2 separate regions of the Homo sapiens genome follow, and region 1 is linked to region 2. The links are contacts of gene promoters, found by promoter capture Hi-C in blood cells and fetal thymus (Javierre and others, 2016). All regions are on one chromosome and are shown on one strand. Each heading gives the region's core, a stretch centred on a gene start or on the middle of the fragment in contact. The rest is flanking DNA. Distances are from core to core; before and after follow the strand shown.

What was found. The method cuts DNA at HindIII sites, captures the fragments that hold promoters and counts their contacts. A CHiCAGO score of 5 or more calls a contact.
Region 1: a fragment that was not itself captured here is called in contact with the fragment with the promoter of LINC00525 in region 2 in 6 of 17 cell types (naive B cells, total B cells, M0 macrophages and 3 more); the score reaches 14.0 in naive B cells.

What each region holds. Positions count from the first base shown.
Region 1 is chr7:47,457,921-47,461,051 of GRCh38, reverse strand. The region is part of intron 4 of TNS3 (tensin 3); the gene reads left to right. Among named protein-coding and RNA genes, the nearest start is that of SNORD151, 5.3 kb to the left of the region's middle. The HindIII fragment of the contact is 3,156 bases long and covers 1-3,101 here.
Region 2 is chr7:47,759,876-47,762,747 of GRCh38, reverse strand. LINC00525 (long intergenic non-protein coding RNA 525) reads right to left here and starts at 1,272. Exons shown (of 3, transcript NR_038407.1): 1 at 1,235-1,272. The HindIII fragment of the contact is 4,383 bases long and covers 1-2,275 here.

The sequences.
Region 1 (3,131 bases), core at 274-2,773, 300 kb after region 2:
TGAGACTGGACACATTCTAACAGCTGGAAAATAAATTTTGAAGTTAATTGCTCAATAAACTTATTTTCTCATGGCGGGATCTATAGATCTGTAATGTTAAGGTATATGATGCACATAAAACCTCTCTGGTTTAGAGCACATCCTCCTTCAGCTTTATTGGAAGTTACTAGGTGGAGGAAGAGCTGAAAGTAGTTGGATATCTTGTGTCTTGATGCTCCTGCTGTTCCTCCTCCTTCAATATTTTGGCATGCCCATCAAATTGCCCAATCTTCCTAGTTACATTAACCAGCTTGACTTACTGGATTGTTTTCCCCACTGCCTCTCCCTTTTATTTAACACATTCAGGAGGAGGAGGCAACGTTTCCACGTGTGGCTAGGGGCCATTCCGGCCCCACACCTTATGCCACTCCTTGCTTTATTGCTGCTGTTCACAGTCAGCCTGGCTTCCTGCCAGGAGAGGGTGAAGTGAGGGGAGCGCAGGGCGGCAGGTGAGCATCTCCAGGCCACCTGCCCATCCTGGGAGCTGAAGGTTGCTCCTGGCAGCAGCATTTCCCAAACACCCACCAGGCATCTCAGAGCTTTCAGATGTCGTCTTAGTCAGCTTAGGCTGCCAAGACAAAGCACCACCGTGCGGGGCAGCTGCAGCAATGGGCGGTTATCACCCTCAGTCCTGGAGGCTGGAAGGCTGAGATGAGGGTGTCTGCAGGGTTGGATTCTCCTGAGGGCTTTCTCATTGGCTTGTAGGTGGCCGTTTTCTCCCTGTGTCCTCACATGGCTGCCCCTCTATGTGTGTCTGTGTCCTAATCTCCTCTTCTTTTTTTTTTTTTTTTTTTTTTTTTGGGACAGAGTCTTGCTCTGTCGCCCGGGCTGGAGTGCAGTGGTGCGATCTCGGCTCACTGCAAGCTCCGCCTCTCAGGTTCACGCCATTCTCCTGCCTCAGCCTCCCGAGTAGCTGGGACTACAGGAGCCCGCCACCATGCATGGCTAATTTTTTGTATTTTTAGTAGAGACGAGGTTTCACCGTGTTAGCCAGGATAATCTCCTCTTTTTATAAAGACACCACTCATACTGGATTAGGGCCACCCTAATGGTGTCATTTTAACTTAATCACTTCTTTAAAGATCCTGTTTCCAAACTGTCACCCTCTGAGGTCCTGGGCACTAGGACTTCAACATATGGATGTTTGTGGGAATGCATTTCATCCATTAACAGATGGTACCAGGCATTTTGTCAGTCTCCAGTGGGGAGGAGGACGGTGCTACCTTTGCCAGATATGGTGGGTAATAAATCATAAACTTGAAGTTATGGTCTTGATTATGGAACAGATGAGTCCTCTCTTCCACTGCCCTGCCCCTCCTTCATTAATCAATCAGTTTATAAATATTTATGTCCTGGGGACCTCTGATGCACCAGACACTGGGCCCTGTGTGGGGATATGGAGGCCTGCCGTGGTTCTCTTGTGGGGGAATTTACATTCTAGGACACTCCAGTGGCATAGTCCACTTGGGGCCTGAGACTGACCTGGGAGGGGATGAAGGTGCTTGCAGAGAGGTTTGGAGGTGCCGTTTTCTCCTCTGCTGTGTTCTCTGGGACACTGGTTTCATAACTATCCAGACACTTCAAGTCTCTTTACCTTTGACAAGATAGTTTCTTTTTTGGAAAGGGGATAAAATATGCTTAAATAGAAAAAGATGGAATGGGTTTCATGTTTTGTATGTTTCCTCTTCTCTGGGATGATGCATGTGGTCCTGGAAGTCACAGCACTTTCTAGAGGAAGTCCTAGTGATGTGGACCCCAAAGCACATGGCATCTCTGGGTGTTTATCCCGAGGCAGCCACTAAGGATGTTAACATTTTAAACTATAGAATGTTTCTCATAGCATCATTCATAAGAGTGGGAAATTTGAGACCAAAAAACATGCTGTTAAAGAGGGATTATGTTCCATCTGGATAATTGGGTACTATGCCACTGTTAAAAATTGCAGTGCAGAAGAAAATATAGTGATATGGACATAAAGCACCATTTGGCTTTTAAATAAGTATGGGCGGAAGAAAGTCGCCCGTACTTATTTAGGGGTCCATCCTATCTGGCTAAAGTTGGTTATCTTGGGGTATGGGAGGGAGAGAGAGGCTGATTCTGTCTGCTTCTTTTTGTATATGTCTACTTTCTGAATTTTCTATAACCAAGTAACTTTTATCATAAGAATGAAAGTAGGTGGTACTTGTTATTTAAAAAGCTGGTTCTCAGAGCTAGCCTCTCAAGGGCAGTGAGGCCCTGCTCTTCAGCCACAGGGGTCTACACAGGCTCCTCAGATGGCCTGGGACCTACATGCCTGGGGTCTGACTCCCGAGCTGCAAGCCTGCACCTGCGGGAAGGGATGGGGGGACTGCTTGTTCCTCATGCAGAAGGCTTCGTCTGTGGTTGGCTTGTGCTCACAGGAGGTGGCTTGAGCAGCCCCGTTTTTCACAGCTCATCCCAGCGCAGACTGATTTTATTTCATCTTGTTTTATATTACATTTTATTTTATTATCATTTTCAGATCCAATTTGTACAGGACATCTAATCTCTCTGGGATAGAAATGAGGGAGAAAAAAGGTTGGGGCATCCAGGAGGCACAGCTGTTCTAAATGTGAGCCACTGACTCATGAGGCACTTCCAGATGGAAGCCTCAGAGGTTAGAGGACACATCTGTCCCCATGTTTAAAAGGGAAATGGATGCCCTGTGCTCAGCTAGTGAAGCTGCCCTTTGGCAGAGCCCCAGGTGACTGTCCCATGGCGTGTGTGTGTGGGAGTTGGGAGGAGCCCGTGGGCCCTGGCCTAGAGCACTCATCCTGGGCAGACGTGGCCTCAGCTGACTAACCAGATGACCTTGAACGGGTCAGTTAGATACCAAGGACATTATTTCCTCACCTGTAAGAAATTGAGTAAGATCACCCATGTTTCTGTGTAGTGTAAACGTCATGTATGTGGCATATTGACATTATTTTGGCATGAGACGTACTGTCTCAATAGGTTTTAGGATTGACCTGAGCAGATATACTTCCTTTTTTTGGTGCCTCAGACTATGTCCTCTTCCCAGAGTCTCCTGATAGGCTCAAGCTTCTGCTTGTGAGCTGCTAGGAGCAAGTTCA
Region 2 (2,872 bases), core at 23-2,522:
ATGCGCAGGCTCCCAGAGAACCTTCAGAAATCAGGTGGGAGTTGGAAAGATTTTTGAATTGTCCTCCTGCAATAGCATGTTGAAGAAAAACTAGCTAAATATACTTTATGTGTAATTCCATGTCCATATGCATGATTTCTTAGGTGGCAACCAAAGGCAAGGAGTTCCTGTGCAAATGGTATTGCCAATATTAAGGTTCTCAATACAGTATATATTTTGTTGTATTCATTTGCTAGGGCTGCCAGAACAAAGTTCCACAAATTGGTTGCCTTAAACAACAAAAATGCATTGTCTCACAATTTCTGGAGGACAGAAGTCTAAGATCAAGGTGTTGGCAGTGTTGTTCCTTCTAAAGGCTGAAGGAGAATCTGTTGCAGGCCTCTCTCCTTGGCTTGAGGACAACCATCTTCTCTCTGTGTCTCTTCCCATCATCTTCCCTCCAGGCATGTCTGGGTCCAAATTTCCCCTTTTTATTATTTTTTATGTATTTATTAATTTTTTTTTTGAGATGGAGTTTCACTCTTGTTGCCCAGCCTGGAGTGCAATGGCGCAATCTCGGCTCACTGCAACCTCTGCCTCCCGGGTTCAAGCGATTCTGCTGCCTTAGCCTCCCAAGTAGCTGGGATTACAGGTGCCTGCCACCATGCCCAGCTATTTTTTTTTCTTGTATTTTTAGTAGAGATAGGGTTTCTCCATGTTGGCCAGACTGGTCTTGAACTCCTGACCTCAGGTGATCCACCCACCTCGGCCTCCCAAAGTGCTGGGATTACAGGCATGAGCCACCATGCCCAGCCAAATCTCCTCTTCTTTATAAGGACACCGGTCATATTGGATGAGTCATATTGGATTACATGCCCACTCTACTCTAGTATAACCTCATTTTAATTTGATCACATTTTCAAAAACCCTGTTTCCAAATGCAGTTGCATTCTGAGGTACTAGGGGTTAGGACTTGGACATAGACATTTTGGGGGACACAATTCAACCCTTATTTGCCAAATCACTTTTTAGAATGATTAAGGCAATTAATGATCTTCTTAAAGTGAAGAAACAACCCACAGAATGGGAGAAAATATTTGCAAACTACCCATCTGACAAGGAATTAATAACCAGAATATATAAGGAGCTCAAACAACTCAACAGGAAAACATCTAGTAATCCAATCAGAAATCAAAATCTAGTAATCCAAATAAAAAATCAGAAATGAATAGATATTTCTCAAAAGAAGACTTACAAATGGCAAACAGGCATATGAAAAGGTGGTCATCGTCACTGATCATCAGAGAAATGCAAATCAAAACTACAATGAGATATCTCACCCCAGTTAAAATGGCTTTTATCCAAAAGACAGGCAATAACAAATGCTGGTGAGGATGTGGAGAAAAGGGAACACTAGTATATTGTTAGTGGGAATGTAAATTAGTACAACCACTATGGAGAACAGTTGGGAGGTTCCTCAAAAAACTAAAAATAGAACTAGCATATGATCCAGCAATCCCAGTGCTGGGTCTATACCCAAAAGGAAGGAAATCAGTATATTGAAGAGATATCTGCACTCCCATGTTTGTTGCAGCACTGTTCACAATAGCTAAGACTTAGAAGCAAATTTACAGTCCATCAACAGATGAACAGATAAAGAAAATGTGGTACATATACACAATGGAGTACTATTCAGCCATAAAAAGAATGAGATCCTGTCATTTGCAACAACATGGATGGAACGAAACTGGAGGACATTATGTTAAGTGAAATAAGCCAGGCACAGAAAGACAAACATCACATGTTCTCACTTATTTGTGGGATCTAAAAATCGAAACCATTGAAATCATGGACATAGAGAATAGGAAGGATGATTACCAGAGGCTGAAAAGGATAGTAGAGGACTGGGGAGATAAGGTGGGAATGGTTCATGGGTACCAAAAAAAAAAATAGAAGAATGAATAATACCTACTATTTGATAGCACGACAGGGAGACTATAGTCAATAATAATTTAAGTGTACATTTTAAAATAATTAAAAGTATAATTGGATTGTTTATACCACAAAGAATAAATGCTTGAGGGTATGGATACCCCATTCTTCATGATGTGCCTATTTCACATTGCATGCCTGTATTAAAACATCCCACGTACCCCATAAATATATACCCCTACTGTGTACCCACAAAAATTAAAAATAAAAAATTTTTTAATCTTGTCAACAGTGTATTAGGACATTGTGTTGTTGCAATTTCCTTAGCATCAAGTTCCGTCTTTAAAAAAAAAAAAAAAAAGCTTACTGATAGGTTTTTAGAGCCTGGTAATTCATTCTTTTTTGTTTTTTGTTTTTGCTCCGTTGCCCAGCCTGGAGTGCAGTGGCACAATCTGGGCTCACTGCAACCTCCGCCCCCTGGGTTCAAGCAATTCTTCTGCCTCAGCCTCCCAAGTAGCTGGGATTTTAGGTGCCAGCCACCACACCCGGCTAATTTTTGTATTTTTAGTAGAGATGAGGTTTTGCCATGTTGGCCAGGCTGGTCTCAAACTCCTGACCTCAGGGGATCCACCCGCTTCAGCCTCCCAAAGTGCTGGGATTACAGGCATGAGCCACTGTGCCCGGTCGGTAATTCATTCTTAAGTAAACTGGCCATATATGAATTGGCCATTTGAGTTCTTTCACAAAATATAAGACTATTTCCCCCCTTACAGTAGCTATTGTTGAATAAGATGCCAAGAAGGACAGCCAGCAATAGAGAATCAGTGCACAGATGCACTGGCAGGATTACCGGGTACATCTCCACCTCACTAACACCTTCTAGAGGTCACCATGAGCGTGGTGGGAAGCAATTTAGAATCAGAAGCACAGGGGTTCAAATCCCAGCTCTGGGACTTTCTAA